Linked DNA regions of Homo sapiens: regions 1, 2, 3, 5, 6 and 7 are each linked to region 4. The links are contacts of gene promoters, found by promoter capture Hi-C in blood cells and fetal thymus (Javierre and others, 2016). All regions are on one chromosome and are shown on one strand. The core of a region is centred on a gene start or on the middle of the fragment in contact, and the rest is flanking DNA. Distances in the headings are between cores, read along the strand shown.

Region 1 (2,700 bases), core at 181-2,680, 710 kb before region 4:
TCTGTGTGCTGCAGACCATTCAGAACTGTCACGTGTGTCCCCATGGTCTCATTCATTGTATTCCTAGCAATTCCCTTTTCAATGTTGAGTTCACCTCTTTATTTCACAAAGTACTTGGTCTCTCAATTTCTTGATCTGGTTTTGCTTCCATTTAAAAACTAATCAAGAAGGGAAAATATTGAGAATGTGCATACAAGAAAATCATTAATTTCCTGAAGATGAATTTCTACCTGTTGTGAACATTTAACTTTCTTTTTAAAAGTTAAACAAAAATAAACAAGGGATATTATGATGAATGTTTGGCTTATGTGAGTACTAGAGATAAAATTTTTAAACCCAGTTATTCACAATATAAAATGTTTTCAAGTTAGAAAAAATTTTTAGAAATCCTGGGTATTGTATTTAACTGTAGCTAACCAATTTTAAAACTTGTATTCTTTTGAGAACTATTATTAATAGAAAAACTTTTTATAAGCAGTAAAATAAGAATGTTCCAGTGACTACCTGTCCTTATACCTAGTCTTGTTAAAACTTTCTTTTGCAGGGTATTTAGTGTTTGGTTTACAGTCAGTGCAGAGTGGGCAAGTTAACAGAAAGTTTGAGCTAGAGATACTGGAAAAAAAAAAGATCAAAGAATGAGAAAAATGGTGATCCATTTTGGGGCAAACTGAGACCCCCCAAATAACTCTTTCCTCATGTGTATGGTGCTCCTCATGACTCGTCTTGTATTTTGCCTTTCTGATACCCATCAGAACTGCTGCTGCTCTAACTTATACTCTTTACCTTGCCCAGATCTCCGCGTAAGGAATGCTTTATGATCAACTTGCCATAGGACTGATGGATTAACCAGTGTTCGGCTTTATTTGAAGTCTATGCCCTGCACAGCTCTTGTATGTATTTTAGATGCTAGAAGTTTTTTTAGCATGTGATGTGTGATTCTTGTTTGAATTCTAGGTACCTTGTGAATTCCAGAAAAAGAGACTGTGCTTCACGATTGTTAGTCCCATGAACTTGCACTATCTATCTTTCATGGTGATGTTTTGAAAATACAATCAGGAAAAAACCCAACACCTTTGGAATTTAAAATAGAATCATATCATGAAATTTAAAAAGAATCTCTTCTGTTGCATTTCCTCACCCCTAAGTAACAGCTACATTTAAGTAAAATGCAGGTGGTAGGGGAAAAAAAACCATGGCGAGATGGTGGTTTAGTGGAATAAACTGATTACTGGTTTTTTTGTTTTTTTTTTTTTTTTTAAAGAAAGAAGCTTCATCACAGATACTTTCCAGTTTCTCTTTTATACTTTTTTGAAAGATTACTTTTTAGGAACATTTGGTATGATATGCATAAAATTATTTATCCATTTATGGGCAAAATGATACAAGTAGCATCTTGATTGAACATCATTTACCTCAGATATTCAACCAGCAGTACGTTTTTTATGCAGTCTCAACCCATATCCCATTTGTTACCTCTCAGAATATTGGTAAGCAGTTATTTTCGCTTTACTCTGTATTTCTTGTGTTTTGGGCACAGGTTATTGTACTACTGTCAAATCGTACTTGCTATTTTTTCTGCAAGTATTTAACAGAAAGCTTAAAATCCCCATAAAACCCCACCTTGGATAAGTGATTGTTAAATATTGTACAAATAAAATGTATGCTATCCCCATTCCATCCCCAAGTTAAATAAAAAAATGAATACGGTATGATTTGCATATGCAGTTTTTCTTTAGCTATGTTTTTTTTTTTTTTTATACTTTAAGTTTTAGGGTACATGTGCACATTGTGCAGGTTAGTTACATAGGTATACATGTGCCATGCTGGTGCGCTGCACCCACTAACTCGTCATCTAGCATTAGGTATATCTCCTAATGCTATCCCTCCCCCATCCCCCCACCCCACAACAGTCCCCAGAGTGTGATATTCCCCTTCCTGTGTCCATGTGATCTCATTGTTCAATTCCCACCTATGAGTGAGAATATGCGGTGTTTGGTTTTTTGTTCTTGTGATAGTTTACTGAGAATGATGATTTCCAATTTCATCCATGTCCCTACAAAGGACATGAACTCATCATTTTTTATGGCTGCATAGTATTCCATGGTGTATATGTGCCACGTTTTCTTAATCCAGTCTATCATTGTTGGACATTTGGGTTGGTTCCAAGTCTTTGCTATTGTGAATAATGCCACAATAAACATACGTGTGCATGTGTCTTTATAGCAGCATGATTTATAGTCCTTTGGGTATATACCCAGTAATGGGATGGCTGGGTCAAATGGTGTTTCCAGTTCTAGATCCCTGAGGAATCGCCACACTGACTTCCACAATGGTTGAACTAGTTTACAGTCCCACCAACAGTGTGAAAGTGTTCCTATTTCTCCACATCCTCTCCAGCACCTGTTGTTTCCTGACTTTTTAATGATTGCCATTCTAACTGGATAAAATACTGGCAAAACGAATCCAGCAGCACATCAAAAAGCTTATCCACCATGATCAAGTGGGCTTCATCCCTGGGATGCAAGGCTGGTTCAATATACGCAAATCAATGAATGTAATCCAGCATATAAACAGAGCCAAAGACAAAAAACACATGATTATCTCAATAGATGCAGAAAAAGCCTTTGACAAAATTCAACAACCCTTCATGCTAAAAACTCTCAATAAATTAGGGATTGATGGGGTGTATTTCAAAATAAT
Region 2 (2,700 bases), core at 136-2,635, 910 kb after region 4:
AATTGTTTGTGATGGTATTACTTTTCCAAAGTTGTGGTGAGATTAAATACTAAAGTGTTCTGCCAAATACATGTCCTCTTGAAGATGTTTGTATTATAATTTTAGGAAAATATATTTGGGGGTAATTTTTACTGTTTAGTTGTCCACAAAATTTGTACACATTCAGAGGTCAGATAATAAGAACAGCTAAAATTTACTGACCTCTTCCACAGGAATAGTAAGAAATGGCTTGCATATGTCATCCCTCCTAAACCTTAAATCTTCTCATGAGATGGGTATTAACAGAAGTGGAACTTGCCCAAGGTCAGAAAACTTGTAAATAGCACAACTGAGATCCAGACTCAGGAGTTTTTTTCCAAACCCCAGTCTCTTAACCACGATGCTGTACAGTCCTTTGATTTTGGATGAGTATCTGGATAACTGAACTAGTCATGATATTTCATGCATGTTGTAATGTTGAGAAATTTCAGAATCCTAAAACAGTTGTTAAAGGTTGGAACATAAGAATGAGCATGAAAATATTATAAGCGACTTGATTTCCTAGAACCAAATGGAAATTAAAATAGTACATGATCACGTAGCAAATTATTAGCATACATCAGAGAACAAAAGATAAGCAGAGCATAACTGCTGAGAGGTATGATGACAAAGCCTGTCAAAACTCTTTCCAATGGGTCTGAAAATCTTTATTGTTTTGATCCCACCCCTACCACACCCTCTCTCCTGAGCTGTGGAAGATCGGTGGGTTAAATTCTATCATCAAATGCAATAATGGAGTTTCAAATATTCAAGTTGAGTGAGGTATGCTTGTCATTCAACTTTACATCCTCTATCCTGACTACTCTCTGAATTCTAGGTTCCCAACTCTAAGTATATGCAGATATTCACCACCATTTTAACTTTACCACATAAATGTAAGAGGGCTATATGCTGCAAACTAGTACTTGGTAGTGAGACCACCAGGCTAGGCATTAGGGTCCAAGGCCCAATTGCTTGTGTTCCAGTCCTGGCTCTGCCATTCAATATCCATGCGACTTTAAACTCATCACCTGGCCTCTCTCTGCTTCAGGTTTCTGATCCATGAAATGGGAATAATAATACTTATTTCATGGGGTTGTTATGAAGATTATATGCATTATGTATAAAGCACTTAGCTAAGTGCTGGGCACAGTAAGCACGATGAAAATGTTGGCTTGTTACTATTATTACCAGTGCTATTATTATTATTATTCTTTTAGTCATCCATGTTGAAAACTGCAGTCTTTTGTTTGGATTGCTGGAAGTGGGATTGGACAGCAAGACCTAGGGAGCAGTCAGTTCCTGCTTTAATTTCTACTTTGGAATATTTATTTCATTCTTACGGCCACCACCCTAATTTAGGCCTCTATTACCTTTGAGTTACCCCATTACAACAGTAGTCTTTTTGTTGCCAGTTACTTTTTGCCTACAGTTTATATCCTATACCACCAGGAGATCTATCTTTCCAAAAGTTGATTTAATCGAATTATTCTTCTGCTTGAAAACCTTCAATGTTTAATGCTATAGCATATCGGTGAATTCCTTATTCTGGAACTAAAAATTCCTTCAATCTAGCCCCAAGGTGTCTTTCTAGCCTCATTTCCCAAGTCCTTGCAGTCAAGGAAACTCTAGGTAAACCAGTCCACTCTCTTGTGTTAGTCTCATGTTTTAGCTCCTGGAATATCCTCTGCTCACTATTCAAATCCCGCCTGCCTTTCAAGGGCCAGCTGAGATTTCCTCTCCTCCAAGAGTCTCTAGACATGCCATAAGCTCTACGACTTGGAGCAGACATGAAGTATGTCAGCATCAAACGTCAAACTTTACTAATTCAGAGTGGACGTATATTGGATATGATTAAGTAAAAAGCAAAGGAAAGGTGTAGAGTTTGAGAAAACCTCTGTGAATCATAAAATTTTAAATGATTTAATTATTTTTATACCGTGTTAGTCCGTTTGGGCTGGTTTGACAGAATACCACAAACTGGGTAATTTATAGTTAGAGGTAAACTTGAACAATTTGGGTTTGAACTGCCCGGGTCCACTCATATTCAGATTTCCTTCTGCCTCTGCCACCCCTGAGACAGCAAGAACAATCCCTCCTCTACCTCCTCCTCCTCAGCCTTCTCAACATGAAGACAATGAGGATGAAGACCTTCATGAGGAGCCCCTTCCACTTAATAAAGAGTAAATATATTTTCTCTTCTTCATGATTTTTTTTTTAACATTTTCTTTTCTCTAGTTTATTTCCCAGCACTTTGGGAGGCCTAGGCGGCGGATCACGAGGTCAGGAGATCGAGACTATCCTGGCTAACATGGTGAAACCCCGTCTCTACTAAAAATACAAAAAGTAGCCGGGCGTGGTGGCAAGTGCCTGTAGTCCGAGCTCCTCAGGAGGCTGAGGCAGGAGAATGGCGTGAACCCAGGAGGCTGAGGCAGGAGAATGGCGTGAACCCAGGAGGCGGAGCTTGCAGTGAGCTGAGATCGCGCCACTGCACTCCAGCCCAAGGAAAAAAAAAATTCAGAATGTAATACATTTAACATACAAAATATGTTAACTACTCATGTTGCCAACAAGGCTTCCAGTCAACAGTAGGCTGTCAGTAGTTCAGTTTCTGGGGAGTCAAAAGTTATATGTGGATTTTTGACTCAGCCTGGGGTTGGGGTGGTCGGCACCCCTAATCCC
Region 3 (2,700 bases), core at 19-2,518, 810 kb before region 4:
TCTCTCTCCAGTCTCACTTAGGACTCTTTCATACCTTTTCATCATGCCCCTTTCACTTTAAGGTGAAAACCTTGCTTTACATGTCAGAGAAAAGAAGAGCCCTCAGCTGGGATTGCCATTATGCTCCAATGTTCGGTTCTGTAAACTCATCTGCTTCTGCAAACTCATCTGCTTCTGCTTGCCCTTCCTGCCTCAAAAGGAGGAGGAGGAGGAAGAAGAGGAAGAGGAAGAGAACAACCACTCTCTTCTCAAAGGCCAACCTAACTCTCTCATGTTCTGAAGCTTGTCCTTTCTTGCCTTCACAAGTATTTTGCCCATTCAGTTTTCCTTTCTTCTGCATTTTCAATCTTTCCTCCTATGGCACCATACCTATGAGTTTACATATATAATTTATGATGTCTCCTCTGAAAAGAGAAACAAAATAAAATCCTCTCTTGATTGTGCATTTCCCTTTAGCCACCACCCCATTTATTTGATTTTTTTAAATAGCCAAATGTCTTTAAGGCTTTGTTATTTTTGTATTTTGTTTTTATTTATTTATTTTTGAGACTGAGTCTTGCACTATCGTCCAGGCTGGAGTGCAGTGGTGCGATCTCAGGTCACTGCAGCCTCCGCCTCCCAGGTTCAAGCAATTCTTGTGTCTCAGCCTCCTGAGTAGCTGGGACTTCAGGCACGCACTGCCACGCCTGGCTAATTTTTGTATTTTTAGTAGAGACAGGGTTTCGCCATGTTGGCCAGGCTGGTCTTGAACTCCCAACCTCAGGTGATCTGCCCACCTTAGGTTCCCAAAGTGCTGGGATTACAGGCATGAGCCACTGCGCCGGGCCAAGGCTTTGTTATTTTTGATGTTTCTAAATTTTCATTTACCATTGACTTCAAATATTTCCATCTAGCTTCTGCTAAAACTACTTTCAAGGATGTTAATTCCTTCTATGATGCCACATCCAATGGCTTACATTTTTGTTTTTCATTTTGCTGTATGTCTCTATCGGATTCAACACTGACCCTATCTTCCTTTTGTGAAACACGCCCACATGTGACATCCGTCGCCCCTGGTTTTTATTTAATCTCTGCCTGCCACTTCTTTATCCCCTTTCCTGGCTTTTAATCCTCCACTTGATTGCTACATTTATTCTTCTCTCTCTCTCTCCTCCCTATTTAGATACTCTCATTCATTTCTATGGCCTTAAATACCATTTGCATGGTGACAACTCCCAGATTTATATCTGTAGCATTGCATGTTGCTCCAAACTTCAGTCACGTAGATCCACTTGCTTATGTTACACTATCTCCATTTGAGTGTCTCACAGGCATCTTAAATATAACATTTTTAAAACTAAGTATTTTCACTATTCATCTTTCCAATTTCTGCCCTATAATATCTCTTCCCTTTAAATCTTCCCCATATCAATAAATGACATGACCTCTACTCATTTGCTCAAGAAAAAAAGTAGGAGTCATCCAATCCATCAGCATGTCTTCCAGAATATATCTTAAATCTGCCCACTTCCTTCTGTATTAGTTTACAATATTATCGTCTCATGTCTGACTTACTATAATGCCCTTCTAACTAATTTCTCCGCTTGCTTTGGTAACCTCTTGCAACTCGTTCTTCATGTAACAGCCAGAGTGATCTACTAAACATAAGCCAGACCACACAACTCCCTGACTTAAAACCCTCCAATGGATTGCTACTTCACTTTGAATAAAATCCAAGGACCTTACTTTGGTCCATAGGCTGTTGCATGGACTGGAGCCTATTTTCCTCTCTCTCCTTATTCATACTACTCTCCTAATTGCCATGAGAGCCTTCTTTCAGTTTCTTAAATACATCATCTGTACTGTTTCTTCTTCACTAGCTTCTTTCATGGTTATCTCCTTTTCATCTTCCAGGTTTCAGTTGAAATGTCACATCCTTTGTAAGTCCTTCCTGAATCATTTTCTCTAAATAGTTCCCCTCTTCCTATACTATCCCATTGCTCTTTATCTTAGCATTCTGTCTGCTTTTATAAATAATCCTTTCCATTTGGGAATTACTTGTTTACTGGCTGTTTTCCTGTCTTCTTCGTGATACTGTCAGCTCAGTGATGGTGGAGACTATATCCATTTCATTCGACACTTGTACAACCAAAATCTAGCACAAATTCTGTATCTGATAATTACTTGTTGAATAGATGAATGCCACAGAGAGTGTAATGAAAATGACTGACCCTTATGTGGACTTGTATTATAGAAAATTTCAGGACTATAACATCAAAGCTTTATTCGAGATTTTAAGCACTTGTCAAAATGGATGAAGGCCATTTTTTTTTGAGAAAGAATTGTGTATATAGTCTGCTTTCTACTCCAGTAGGAAATCCATTCTTAGATCCTCTATGATGAATTTCCAATCTGTGAGACCTTTGTGAAGTCAAAGTACAATAAAATTGAATTACTAAGAACTTGAGGCCGGGCACAGTGGCTCACACCTATAATCTGAGCACTTTGGGAGGCCGAGGTAGGCAGATCACTTGAGCTCAGGAGTTCAAGACCAGCCTGGGCAATATGGCAAAACGCCGTCTCTACAAAAAAATGGAAAAAAAAAAATTAGCCCGGTATGTTTGGCACACGTCTGTAGTCCCAGTTACTCAGGAAGCTAAAGTGGGAGGATCACCAGAGCCTGGGAAGTCAAGACTGCAGTGAGTGGTAATTGCATCACTG
Region 4 (2,700 bases), core at 78-2,577:
TGATCGATTATTAGAAAATGGTAAAATGTGTTAAAAACTCTCTTTGTACGGTTTTGTGAGAAATGTGTAATGCTTAAAGACTAACCAAGAGCCTCTTGGCTAAACCAGGTTGATGTCAACAATAGCTAGTACTTATTTGAGTCACCTTGATTTTCCCTCCTCTTGAGAACTTTCTCTAACCAGTTTAGGCTGCAGTCATGCCTCCTTTCCTTTCTCTGAACTCTCACAATTATTGCCTAGATCTCGTTTGGTAATTAATCATGTGCTACTTACTGCCTGTGTCATCTCTTGTATTGTTTTCTTAAAATATTTACACTTTTTTTTCGGTTGTCACTTATCTTTCCAGCTGTCATTTTCTTCAACTATTTACGTCTCTGTTACTCATCTTTCCAGCCATCCTGGCATCCCATTAAGGTGAAAGCTCTCTGAGGCAGGAACCTTTTCTCAGATTTCTTCGAGTCTTCCACAGCACCCCACATTTGACACACATCTGCTACTTCGCAAATGTGTGCTGCCTTGGCTAAATTTTTAGAAGCTGAACTTTTAGGAAAGCTACTATTTTTGAACTCAGAAAAATACCTACCATCCACTAAACAGCTGTACCGAAGTTTGGGTGACAGGGAACCTAAGTTCACTTGTTGCATCTGGCAGCCTCAAACCATGAACCCTCACTGCAAAGCGAGGATGAACGCGCTGCTGCACCTTGGAGAGCTCTTTCGGACAGGTACGGAGGGGAGGGCGTAGAAGAGGGCTGGCACCAGCAGCGCGGTCCAGTCCTCCGAACGGACTGATGGGACTGATGGGAGAGACCTCTTGCACCTCTCGGGGATGTGCGCCTCGGAGGATGCGAATTAGCTTGCGCACAGGGCGCCTTGGGGATAGCGCTGTCCAAGTACAGGCTTGGGTGATGGCTGGTGGGGTCCGGGTCGACATTTTCCCTTCCCGCTCCCGGACTTCTGCACACACGCGCTGCTCGGCGCAGCCGTCTTTGCCCGGCGCCTTCCTCCGGGACACCCAGCGAGAGGGGTGACCGGGCGGCGGCGGGAGAGGCGCACGCTCCCGGGCGCGGGCGAACTTGCGCACCTGGCACCTGCCACACAGCGAAAGCACCGGCCAGCGAGCGGAGGGGCGCCGCCCCCGCCCCCTCTCCCCGGAGCGGACCGAGACCGAGCACGCTCCCGCGGGCCGGCAGCGCCGCGGAGAGAGTGGGTGGGCAGGCGAGGGAGGGGAAGGGAGAGGAAGGAGGGAGGGAGGGAGAGGGCGAGGCGCGTTCCCGCGACGGGGGCGCGCTCTCGCGCGGGCTGCCGGGATCGCTCGCCGCCGCTGTGGTAATGTCCGCCATGTTGGCCATGGCGCAGGGAGCGGATCGGGCGGGCGAGCGGCGGATCTAGTGTGTGGAGGCGGCCGCGGGCGCGGGGGGCTGTTTTCGGGCGGGGTGGGCGCCCATGCTGTGGCCGGGGGCAGTGAGGAGGAGGAGGAGCGGGCCGGCCGCGCTGCACTGAGGAAGGAGGTGGAGGAGGCGGCGGGAGTCCTCCCCCCCTCCCCGCCCGCCCCGCCGCCGCCGCCCGGGCTGTTCCTGTAAGGCGGGGAGACAATGAGTAAACTCTCCTTCCGAGCGCGGGCGCTGGACGCCGCCAAGCCGCTGCCTATCTACCGCGGCAAGGACATGCCTGATCTCAACGACTGCGTCTCCATCAACCGGGCCGTGCCCCAGATGCCCACCGGGATGGAGAAGGAGGAGGAATCGGTAGGGACTCGAGTGTTTATTACCCCCCCTTCCCTCCTCCCCCCTCCCCTTTGTCAGTCGGGCCTCGCCATTCACAGAGCGCTTTACGCTCGCTGGAGGGCGCCGCTGCCGCTCTAACGCACGGGACTCTACGCCGGCGGAGTAGCGTAAACCCTCTCGGCCGGCGTAGCGCCCGCCCGCGGCCGCCATGTTGTTGCGTCCCAGTGTTGTGATTAGCTCGCAGCGCTGCTTACGCTGCCGTAAGGGGGCCTTGCCGTAAGCGGCGGCCGGGAATGGCGCAGGGGATGCGCTGGCCGCTCTTGGCGTACGGTCTCTGTTTACCTTTCCACCTCCCTCTCTCAGGCGCGGGGCTAATTAATGGCGTGGTATTATTTGGCTAGGCAAGATTATTATTTTTTCCACTTTTAACTTTGGCTTTGTATTGAGTTCTCTTTGAAATGACTGTGGAAGGGTGCTTTCAAAACAAACATCTTCCTCCCAGCAATGTAATCATCCTGGCTCCCCCGCCCGCGAAGGTGCAGCGGGATGAGGCGGTGCAGCACTGCGGCGGGGGAGGGCGGGGGCCACGACTACCGAGCGGGTCGTAGCGTCCGAGGGCCGCCCGCCGGCCAGTTCTGCCGACCCGAGCCGGGCGCGGGGCGGACGGGCTCTGCCTGCTCCGCCTGGACGGCCGTGCTCCGTGCGCAACGTTAGAGAGGAGCCGGGGATGCCCGGAAGCGAGCCGCCGGCGTTGCGTTGTCCTCGAGAATTGTCATTGCGAGGTGGTCCTTAGAAGTTGAGGACCTAGTGCATCTAAATTGGCAGTTGTAATTTTGATAATACAGCACCTTTTGGGAAAATTGCTGCTTTTCCTCCGATGGGTTAAATTTTGCAGACGGTTGGATTTCATCTGGCTTGACAGAGAGTGTTTATGACTCGAGTGGTGTTACTTGCGTGCGAAGTTCATAGTAACT
Region 5 (2,700 bases), core at 139-2,638, 690 kb before region 4:
GGGTCTGTGCAGACTGAGAAATGTCAAAAAGATTATAGAGAAGTGTTTGGTTTTTATGATGAGCAAAAAGATCAAATTCATCTAATATGAAGATCACTGGGCAACTGCTAGTTCGGTCACCTAAGATAAAATAAGAGCATTACATTAATAAGAAATTATATCCACCTTTCCTAAATTTCCAAACCATTTACTATATTTCAGTTTTTAAAACTCAATTCTGTAAACATTCTGATAGCCTACTTTGGGTAGGGGATTTACTGATGCATATACGTTCATTCAACAGAAAAAAATTATTCAAAGGACAAACACAGCCCCGACTGCTCTCAAGAAGTTCAGTCTAGGCTGGGCGTGGTGGCTCATGCCTGTAATCCCAGCACTTTGGGAGGCTGAGGTGGGTGGATCACCTGAGGTCGGGAGTTCGAGACCAGCCTGACAAACATGGAGAAATCCCATCTCTACTAAAAATACAAAATTAGTCAGGTGTGGTGGCGCATGCCTGTAATCCCAGCTACTCGGGAGGCTGAGGCAGGAGAATTGCTTGAACCCAGGAGGCAGAGGTTGTGGTGAGCCAAGATCGTGCCACTGCACTCCAGCCTGGGCAACGAGAGTGAAACTCCATCTCAAAAAAAAAAAGTTCAGTCTAGGCCGGGCATGGTGACTCACGCTTGTAATCCCAGCACTTTGGGAGGCCGAGGTAGGTGGATCACCTAAGGTCAGGGGTTTGAGACCAGCCTGGCCAACATGGTAAAACCCCATCTCTGCTATTAAAAAAAAAAAAAAAAATTAGCTACTTGGGAGGCTGAGGCAGGAGAATCTCTTGAACTGCGGAGGCAGAGGTTGCAGTGAGCTGAGATCACACCATTGTATTCTAGCCTGGGCAACAAGAGTGAAACTCCATCTCCAAAAAATAAAAAGTGCAGTCTAGTTCCTAGACTCTAGTAGAGTTTGTTGTTGAAAAATGTCAAAAATCATTTAAATGACTAAAGACTATTATTTTTATAATTACGTAAATATAATTCTTATTTAATGATTATAAAATTGACAGAGTTTTCTATACCTACACAGAACCAAAACACTTTAAGATTAAAATATAAGGGGAGTCACTAATTAATGAACAAAACTAATGCTTTAAAAGAGAGTTGTTTATTTAGTAGAAATACAAGGTACATTTCTTGTAGAAATACTTTTTATAAACAAACTTGTAGATTATAAAGTTCAACTAAAGCCACTTAAACTCCCTTGAAGCACAACTTTTAGCATTTCAACTACAATGCTTTTCATGGGGAAAGTTCCACATCACCCTCTGGTTACATTTTTCTCACTTCAATAATGGAAACAACTTTAGTAAAAGAATCCCTTTTACCTTAGGCTTAACGCCTTTATATTTGTGTTAAAAAGTGAAACAAATATCTGATAAAAGAAAGACTTATTTCAACAAATAACAAATACAGTAGCCTAAATGACTTAATACTGGTACAAAACCAAAGGGATTACTCAAAAGTCTAGAAAGAGACTTATGTACTAATATAGAATTTTAGTATTTGATAAAATATTGCATTATACATCAGTGGGGAAAATTAGTCTATTCAAAGTCAGATCCCTACTTTACAGGTAAAATCAGAATAAATTCCAAACAAATTATAAATTACAAATATATATATATATTAAATAAAAAGATGGATCAATGAATGTTTTTATAATCTGAAGGAGAGAAAAAACTTTCTAGATAAACTTAACTATGTGGAAAACATAAAACTTTAGATCAGCAGAAAAGTCCAAACCAAACTTAAGGGAAGAGAAAAATAAAACACAAAAATTCCGATAAATAAGCATAACATAAACATTACCACAATAGGTCAAAGACCCAACAGGAAATACAGTCGTGTGTCCCTTAATGACAGAGATACGTTCTGAGAAATGTATTGTTAGGTGACTGCATCGTTGTACAAGCATCCTAACAGTGTACTTACCCAAGCCTAGATGGTATAGCCTACTAGACACCTAGGCTATATGGCATAGCCTATTGCTCCTAGGCTATGAACCTATGAGCATGTGATAGTGTAGACAACTGTAACACAATGCGAAGTATTTGTGTATCTAAACATATCTAAACACAGGAAAGGTACAGTAAAAATATGGTTTTATAATCTAATAGGACCACTGTCACATATGTGGTCTATCATTGAATTAAAGGTTGTTATGTGGCACATGACTGTACATAAACCAGGAAATTTCAAAGGTCAATAAAAATATGAAATGACAAGCATCACCACTATCAGAATTATGCAAATTAAGTAACCAGAATTATGCAAATTAAAGAACAAAATTATTCAAATTAAACTAAGAGCTGAAAGTTTTTCTATTATATGGGCAAACATAAAAATAATAATTGTTTTTGAGGTTGTGAAGAAAAAGGTATTATCAAATATTTTTACAAATTAAACCTTTAGGGTAGTTTTTAAATGTTAAAGATGGTGCCTTTTAACCCAGAATTCTACCCACAGAAATTTATCCCAGGAAATATCTGGATGATCATCAAAGTATCTCTTCTTAATTATAAAAAATTAGAAACAAAAGCCCATAATTGGTGATTAATAAATAGCACCTTATAAAACAAGAACCATAAAAATGATGATGCAGATCAAAATCTTATTACAAAATAGGTAAAATAATTTTATTGTTGTAAAAAATCACATTTAT
Region 6 (2,700 bases), core at 4-2,503, 650 kb before region 4:
TTCAGGGTATATGTTCATTTGAGAAGAATAATGAATAGAATACTGTCCACTATTCAAATAAATTTTTCCTTTGCCACGTTTACAGACTTGAGTTTACTTAAATGTAAGTATGATACTGCTAGGGCTAAGGAAATGATACTCCAAAATAAAGTCCTCCAAAGCAGCTCTCTCTGACCATCTCCTAACTTCCTGTCTCTGGCCTCTCATTCTCCTGAGGCTAGCCACTGAAACTACCATCCCTCGTCCCCAAGGTAGTCCACAGAAACCAGAACTCCCTTTCCCCAAAGCCAGCCACAGAACCTAAATATATTACTCTAATGTTCCCTGCCCTCATCTTTCTGTGTAAAAACTAACTATAAAGACATATCTGACCTATTCTGTTTGATTGTAGGTCATAGGATCCCCATTCCAGAAAGGGTGCTGTTCCATACCCGGAAGGAAAGAATGCTGCACAGAGAGGCCAAGAAGAATCTATACAGACAGGCAGGCCTTGCTGGGTTTCCCCACTCAGTATATGGCTGTCCAGACTTTGCTGAACCTAAGCATACCAATGGGCAGTTTTCTCCTATATCTTTAGGTCTTTATTCTGAAGGCTCCCATGTCACGTAACACCAAGATCAAATAAAATCATATGCCCTTTCTCCTATTAATCTGCCTTTTTTCAGCTGATTTTCAAAGAACCTTCAGAGGCTGAAAGGGAAGTTTTTTCTTGGCCCCTACAATATGCTACAACTCCAGTAAGTTAATTAGTAAATATTAAACTATTTTTGGAAGGAAAAAAAACTGAAAATAACATTGCTTTAGAGATAAATTATTTAAGAATTGCTAGAAATTACCCTAGAAATTATCCTAGAAAAATCTTAAAATTTTCCCTAAAAACTTTTAGGAATAATACATTGTTTCTAATGAGACCCTTCAGCTTATGCAAAAAGCACAGGAGACTAAATTCTAGAGTCAACGAAACGATATTCTCCAATTCTGTTTTGCTAATGAATATGTTGTCCATCCCCCCATCAGCATGCTTAGGTAATCTTGCAAGGATAAATGGAAATGTCAGTTGACATTTACAATGAAATAGGATTTTTAGACAGTTGTGCTTTTTGGGTGGGAAAAGGAGAGCTAAAAATTAGGGGGTTGGGGGCTTAAAAAAGACAGCATTATATGGCTTAGAACTTTGGTACCCTACCTTCATCCTTTTCTGCAATCCCTTTTACTCCCCAAAGTTAAAAGGCTATCAATGGGACAATAATTGATGATCAACTATGAAGAAATAGGCTCAAATACACTGTTTTATTATATTTTTATCATTCTTTATATACCTTTTCTCATCATTCTTTGTCCCAATAGTATGCTATGATTATGCACGTAGAAAATCCCAAAATAACAACAAAATCACTGGAACTAATAAACTACTGTAGAAAGGTTGCAGGATACAAGGTTAATATACAAATTGTCAACTTCCTTCCTATGTATCAGTAATGAACAACTGAAATTAGAAATTAAAATAATACCATATACATTAGCAACAACAACAAAAAACATTCACCAAAAATGTAGATATAAATCTAACAAAATATGTACAAGATCTCTATGAGGATCACTATAAAACTCTGATTCAAGAAATCAAAGAAAGTCTAAATAAATGAGATCATTCAAGAGTAGAAAAAAATTCGTATTGTTAAATGTCAGTTCTTCCAACCTTGATCTATAAATTCAATGCAATCCCAATCAAAATTCTGGATAGTTATTTTGTGGATATGACAAACTGATTTTAAAGTATACACAGAAAGACCCAGGAGAACCAACACGATACCGAAGGAGAACAAAGTTGGAGGACAAAACCTACCCAACTTCAAGACATTATAAAACTATACTAATCAATACAGTGTGATAATGGTGAAAGAACAGACAAATCAAGGGAACAAAACAGAGCCCAGAAATAGGCCCACATAAACATAGTCAGCTGGTCTTTTACGAATAAGCAAAGGCAATTCAATGGAGAAAAGAACAATCTTTGCAACAAATGGTAATGGAAAAACTAGACATACACATGCCAAAACATGAATTGACACAGACCTTACAAGTTTCACACACAAAAAATCTAAAAATGGATCACAGACCTAAATATAAAATGCAAAACTATAAAACTCCAAAAATGGCCGAGCACAGTGGCTCACGCCTCTAATCCCAGCACTCTGGGACACCAAGGCAGGTGGATCACCTGAGGTCAGGAGTTCGAAACCAGCCCGACCAACATGGTGAAACCCTGTCTCTACTAAAAATACAAAAATTAGCTGGGCATTGTGGCAGGCTCCTGTAATCCCAGCTACTTGGTGACAGGTGAAGCCAGCTGGACTTCCTGGGTCGAGTGGGGACTTGGACAACTTTTCTGTCTAGCTAGAGGACTGTAAATGCACCAATCAGCACTCAATAAAAAAACGCACCACTCAGCGCTCTGTGGATTAAAGGATTGTAAATGCACCAATCAGCACTCTATAAAAACGCACCAATCAGCGCTCTGTGTCTAAAGGACTGTAAATGCACCAATCAGCACTCTGTAAAAATGCACCACTCAGCATTCTGTGTCTAGCTAAAGGATTGTAAATGCACCAATCAGCACTCTATAAAAACGCACCAATCAGCACTCTGTGTCTAAAGTATTGTAAATGCACCAATCAGCACTCTGGTCTAGCTAAAGGA
Region 7 (2,700 bases), core at 154-2,653, 670 kb before region 4:
AGTTTCTTAAATTTAAAAATTTAAAAATTTGAAATTTAAAAACATTTCACATAGCCCTCTTGTGAAAACTACCCAAAATAACAGTGAATTCAAATGCAAAGAAAAACCATAATAAAAAACTCAAGAATGAAGAAATAGTGATTATAGAAGCTGAGTATGAGGACTAAAACAAATTAAACATAGATTTGAAACTAAAAAATTACTGCAAATATGATTATATATAAATGTGACAATTTGTGAAATATTGAAAGAAATTACCTAGATCTAAATTCTCAATTTATATTAAACAATACTTCAGATGTGATAACAGTAAAATCCTAACGTACTCATCTTAATAATGTAATTTCAATATACATTGCTTAAATGTTAAAAAAAATTTTGCTTCTCATCCATTTTTTTAAAGTACATTGGTCAAAAATTGAAATTTATTGTATATAATACATGAGAACAGATTTTACACAGACTACTTAGCATTGAAATTAATTGCTTTCAAAAGTTAACACCCATAATTTGTCTCCTATATTGCATAAAGGATATCAAAGAAAAGAGTAAAGGGAAATAAGTAAGAATATCTTTTTGAGGTAACTAAGCAAATATGATAAAGAGCAAAAGGAGACAAGAATGATATAAGATGTGAGCATGCACTGAAAAACTGTGTAAGTTAGGGTTAAACAAATAGTAATGATGTAGGAAAAATAAAAAGAATGCATGATATGATAGTTCCCTAACCTATAACAAAGGGAAAAACCCTACCGTGCAGTGTTGATGTAAAGAATAAATGAGAGAACACAATAAAAAGACACATAGTACATGCTCAATACATGCTATTTTCTTTTTCCACTGGAAATCTCTACTTCTTTAAGGACAAAAGACCATGTTGGAACAAACATCAATTGACAATTTTTCACTAGGAGGACAAATAAGGGGGAAAAAGGTCTGCTACACTCAAATATACCACCCTAAGTTTATAAAGTTTTACATGTCTTCTGTGATTAAAAAAGAAAAAAACAAAAAAGTAAAACATTACAAAATAATGAAAAGTATTTTCAGTATTACATAAAATAAGATTTATATATGAATTTATTTATTCTTATATAAAATAAGAATCATCACATGCCAACAAACACCAGAAATCAACAGCTTTTACCATAGTTTTTCCTGATCCTCGGGGTCCGATAATAAGGACAGAGTTACTCTCTCCATGGAGAGCAGTTCTTTTCAGCAGCTCACTTAAGTGTCTAAAATGATATAAATAGGACAAAATTTTAAAAATGAAGCTGGAATACTTTGTTATGTTGTAGTTTTTAAAAGGCATATTTGAATATGCACAGAAATTTCCTCTCTTCTCTCCCTCTGGGTACTTGGCCTAGCTTCTGAATGGTCCTAAATAGAAAAATACAAAAGAAATAGTAGGGCAGTATTGATTCTCTGAAATCTTCAGGTGAAAACGTAGTCAGATTGGAATATATTGATTTATACGATAGTAGGGGACAAGGGACAATAGTGGCAACTCTCGGGACCCTTGGATTCAAATCTCTTTTCCTACTAATACTCTGGACTTTTACTCCATAGCTGGCTGCTGGGTATTAAGGGCAAGATGGCTAGAATTCTCTCCACAGTATCAGATAACAGAAACAAAACAAAATTGAAAGTTAAAGTGCTATTGCATTATGGAAATATTTGTATCTGCTCCTGCTTCATGCTATGTGGTGTTTCTATTCACAAAGCAAAATTTTTTATTTCTATAAAAGTGTTTGTTAGCTTTATTTAATATCAAATTTGTACAATAATTTTTGCAAAACCTGGAAGGCATCTGTAAGTAGGTCCATAACAGTCAAGAGGACAGCTAGACTTACTTGTATTGTACTTGCACTCCAAATAGGTTACTATGTGGACTCTGACGACAAAATCTTTCACGTAAAATTCTTTGTACCTGATGAAAATAAAGTGAATAAATATAAATAAAAATATTACACATGATATAAAAAATAAATAAGAAAGCACATTTACAATAGTCAGAATTAGGTATTAATGAATCAATTCAACCCTCCCTAAATTCTTATCCTCTAGAGTTCTGGCACCATTTTCATATGTTAAAAAATTAATGGATTTCTTACCTATCTCAAGTCCCATAGGAAGAATGAGAATTTAGTTGTGAAGGTTTCAACAAGAGGGAGAATCACTGACTTTAGCTATATTAGCAACTTAAGGGCCATTGTAATGCATGTGAACGAGTTAAGAAAAGAATTCTTGTAAGCAGCTATATTTTGAGGTCATCTTAGAACTAAGGCCTTAGACTTAGTCATGAAAAATTATGTCAGATAATCTACCATACTCTTTAAAAAGATGGACCATTAAAGTCGTTCCTTTTTTGGATCTGCAGCTAATACAGAGGTCTTTCAAGGACAACAACCTGAGGGTGCTATCTCAGATTTGGCCCCATGAACTGGAATAAAAAGGCTCCAAGAATATTTGCTTCTCCTAGACTGACAGCATGGAACTAATCCTTCATGTACCAAAGAAGTAAATCTGAGTTCTTGTTCCATGTACAGAGGCAAAGCAAAGAAAATGATTCATTAGGGACAAAACAATACATACTTGTTCATTATCGAGGAAGTTAAAGAGTAAGGACATTGGCTCCAGAAGAGTCTATTATATGAATTTTAAAAGGTTAAGTCTGTTCTAAATTTTAATTTCTGT

Evidence for each region. Contacts are between HindIII fragments. The CHiCAGO score rates a contact against its expected background, and 5 or more counts as called.
Region 1: a fragment that was not itself captured here is called in contact with the fragment with the promoter of EPC2 in region 4 in 7 of 17 cell types (erythroblasts, fetal thymus, naive CD8 T cells and 4 more); the score reaches 8.7 in erythroblasts.
Region 2: a fragment that was not itself captured here is called in contact with the fragment with the promoter of EPC2 in region 4 in 1 of 17 cell types (neutrophils); the score reaches 5.3 in neutrophils.
Region 3: a fragment that was not itself captured here is called in contact with the fragment with the promoter of EPC2 in region 4 in 1 of 17 cell types (fetal thymus); the score reaches 5.1 in fetal thymus.
Region 5: a fragment that was not itself captured here is called in contact with the fragment with the promoter of EPC2 in region 4 in 6 of 17 cell types (fetal thymus, neutrophils, erythroblasts and 3 more); the score reaches 8.5 in fetal thymus.
Region 6: a contact is called between a fragment that was not itself captured here and the fragment with the promoter of EPC2 in region 4, in 6 of 17 cell types (naive CD4 T cells, total CD8 T cells, activated CD4 T cells and 3 more). The highest score is 7.6, in naive CD4 T cells.
Region 7: a contact is called between a fragment that was not itself captured here and the fragment with the promoter of EPC2 in region 4, in 3 of 17 cell types (erythroblasts, fetal thymus and megakaryocytes). The highest score is 7.7, in erythroblasts.

Annotation. Positions count from the first base shown.
Region 1 is chr2:147,929,116-147,931,815 of GRCh38, forward strand. It overlaps ACVR2A (activin A receptor type 2A), which reads left to right. Exons shown (of 11, transcript NM_001616.5): 11 at 1-1,707. It overlaps ORC4 (origin recognition complex subunit 4), which reads right to left. Exons shown (of 14, transcript NM_181741.4): 14 at 1,281-2,700. Among named protein-coding and RNA genes, the nearest start is that of ACVR2A, 85 kb to the left of the region's middle. The HindIII fragment of the contact is 328 bases long and covers 1,267-1,594 here.
Region 2 is chr2:149,556,719-149,559,418 of GRCh38, forward strand. No RefSeq gene overlaps it. Among named protein-coding and RNA genes, the nearest start is that of MMADHC-DT, 29 kb to the right of the region's middle. RefSeq lists a silencer at 1-31. The HindIII fragment of the contact is 4,195 bases long and covers 1-2,700 here.
Region 3 is chr2:147,837,809-147,840,508 of GRCh38, forward strand. No RefSeq gene overlaps it. Among named protein-coding and RNA genes, the nearest start is that of ACVR2A, 5.9 kb to the right of the region's middle. The HindIII fragment of the contact is 1,977 bases long and covers 281-2,257 here.
Region 4 is chr2:148,643,424-148,646,123 of GRCh38, forward strand. EPC2 (enhancer of polycomb 2) reads left to right here and starts at 1,328. Exons shown (of 14, transcript NM_015630.4): 1 at 1,328-1,747. The coding sequence starts at 1,595. RefSeq lists silencers at 982-1,561, 2,322-2,411 and enhancers at 1,401-1,905, 2,502-2,651. The HindIII fragment of the contact is 14,369 bases long and covers 1-2,700 here.
Region 5 is chr2:147,952,405-147,955,104 of GRCh38, forward strand. ORC4 (origin recognition complex subunit 4) reads right to left here. Exons shown (of 14, transcript NM_181741.4): 8 at 1-120. Among named protein-coding and RNA genes, the nearest start is that of ORC4, 67 kb to the right of the region's middle. The HindIII fragment of the contact is 2,948 bases long and covers 1-2,700 here.
Region 6 is chr2:147,992,586-147,995,285 of GRCh38, forward strand. All of the region lies in intron 1 of ORC4 (origin recognition complex subunit 4), which reads right to left. LOC105373674 (a long non-coding RNA gene) reads left to right here. Exons shown (of 5, transcript XR_007087258.1): 5 at 392-650. Among named protein-coding and RNA genes, the nearest start is that of ORC4, 27 kb to the right of the region's middle. The HindIII fragment of the contact is 3,315 bases long and covers 1-2,700 here.
Region 7 is chr2:147,971,592-147,974,291 of GRCh38, forward strand. It overlaps ORC4 (origin recognition complex subunit 4), which reads right to left. Exons shown (of 14, transcript NM_181741.4): 3 at 1,857-1,933; 4 at 1,148-1,238. Among named protein-coding and RNA genes, the nearest start is that of ORC4, 48 kb to the right of the region's middle. The HindIII fragment of the contact is 4,438 bases long and covers 1-2,700 here.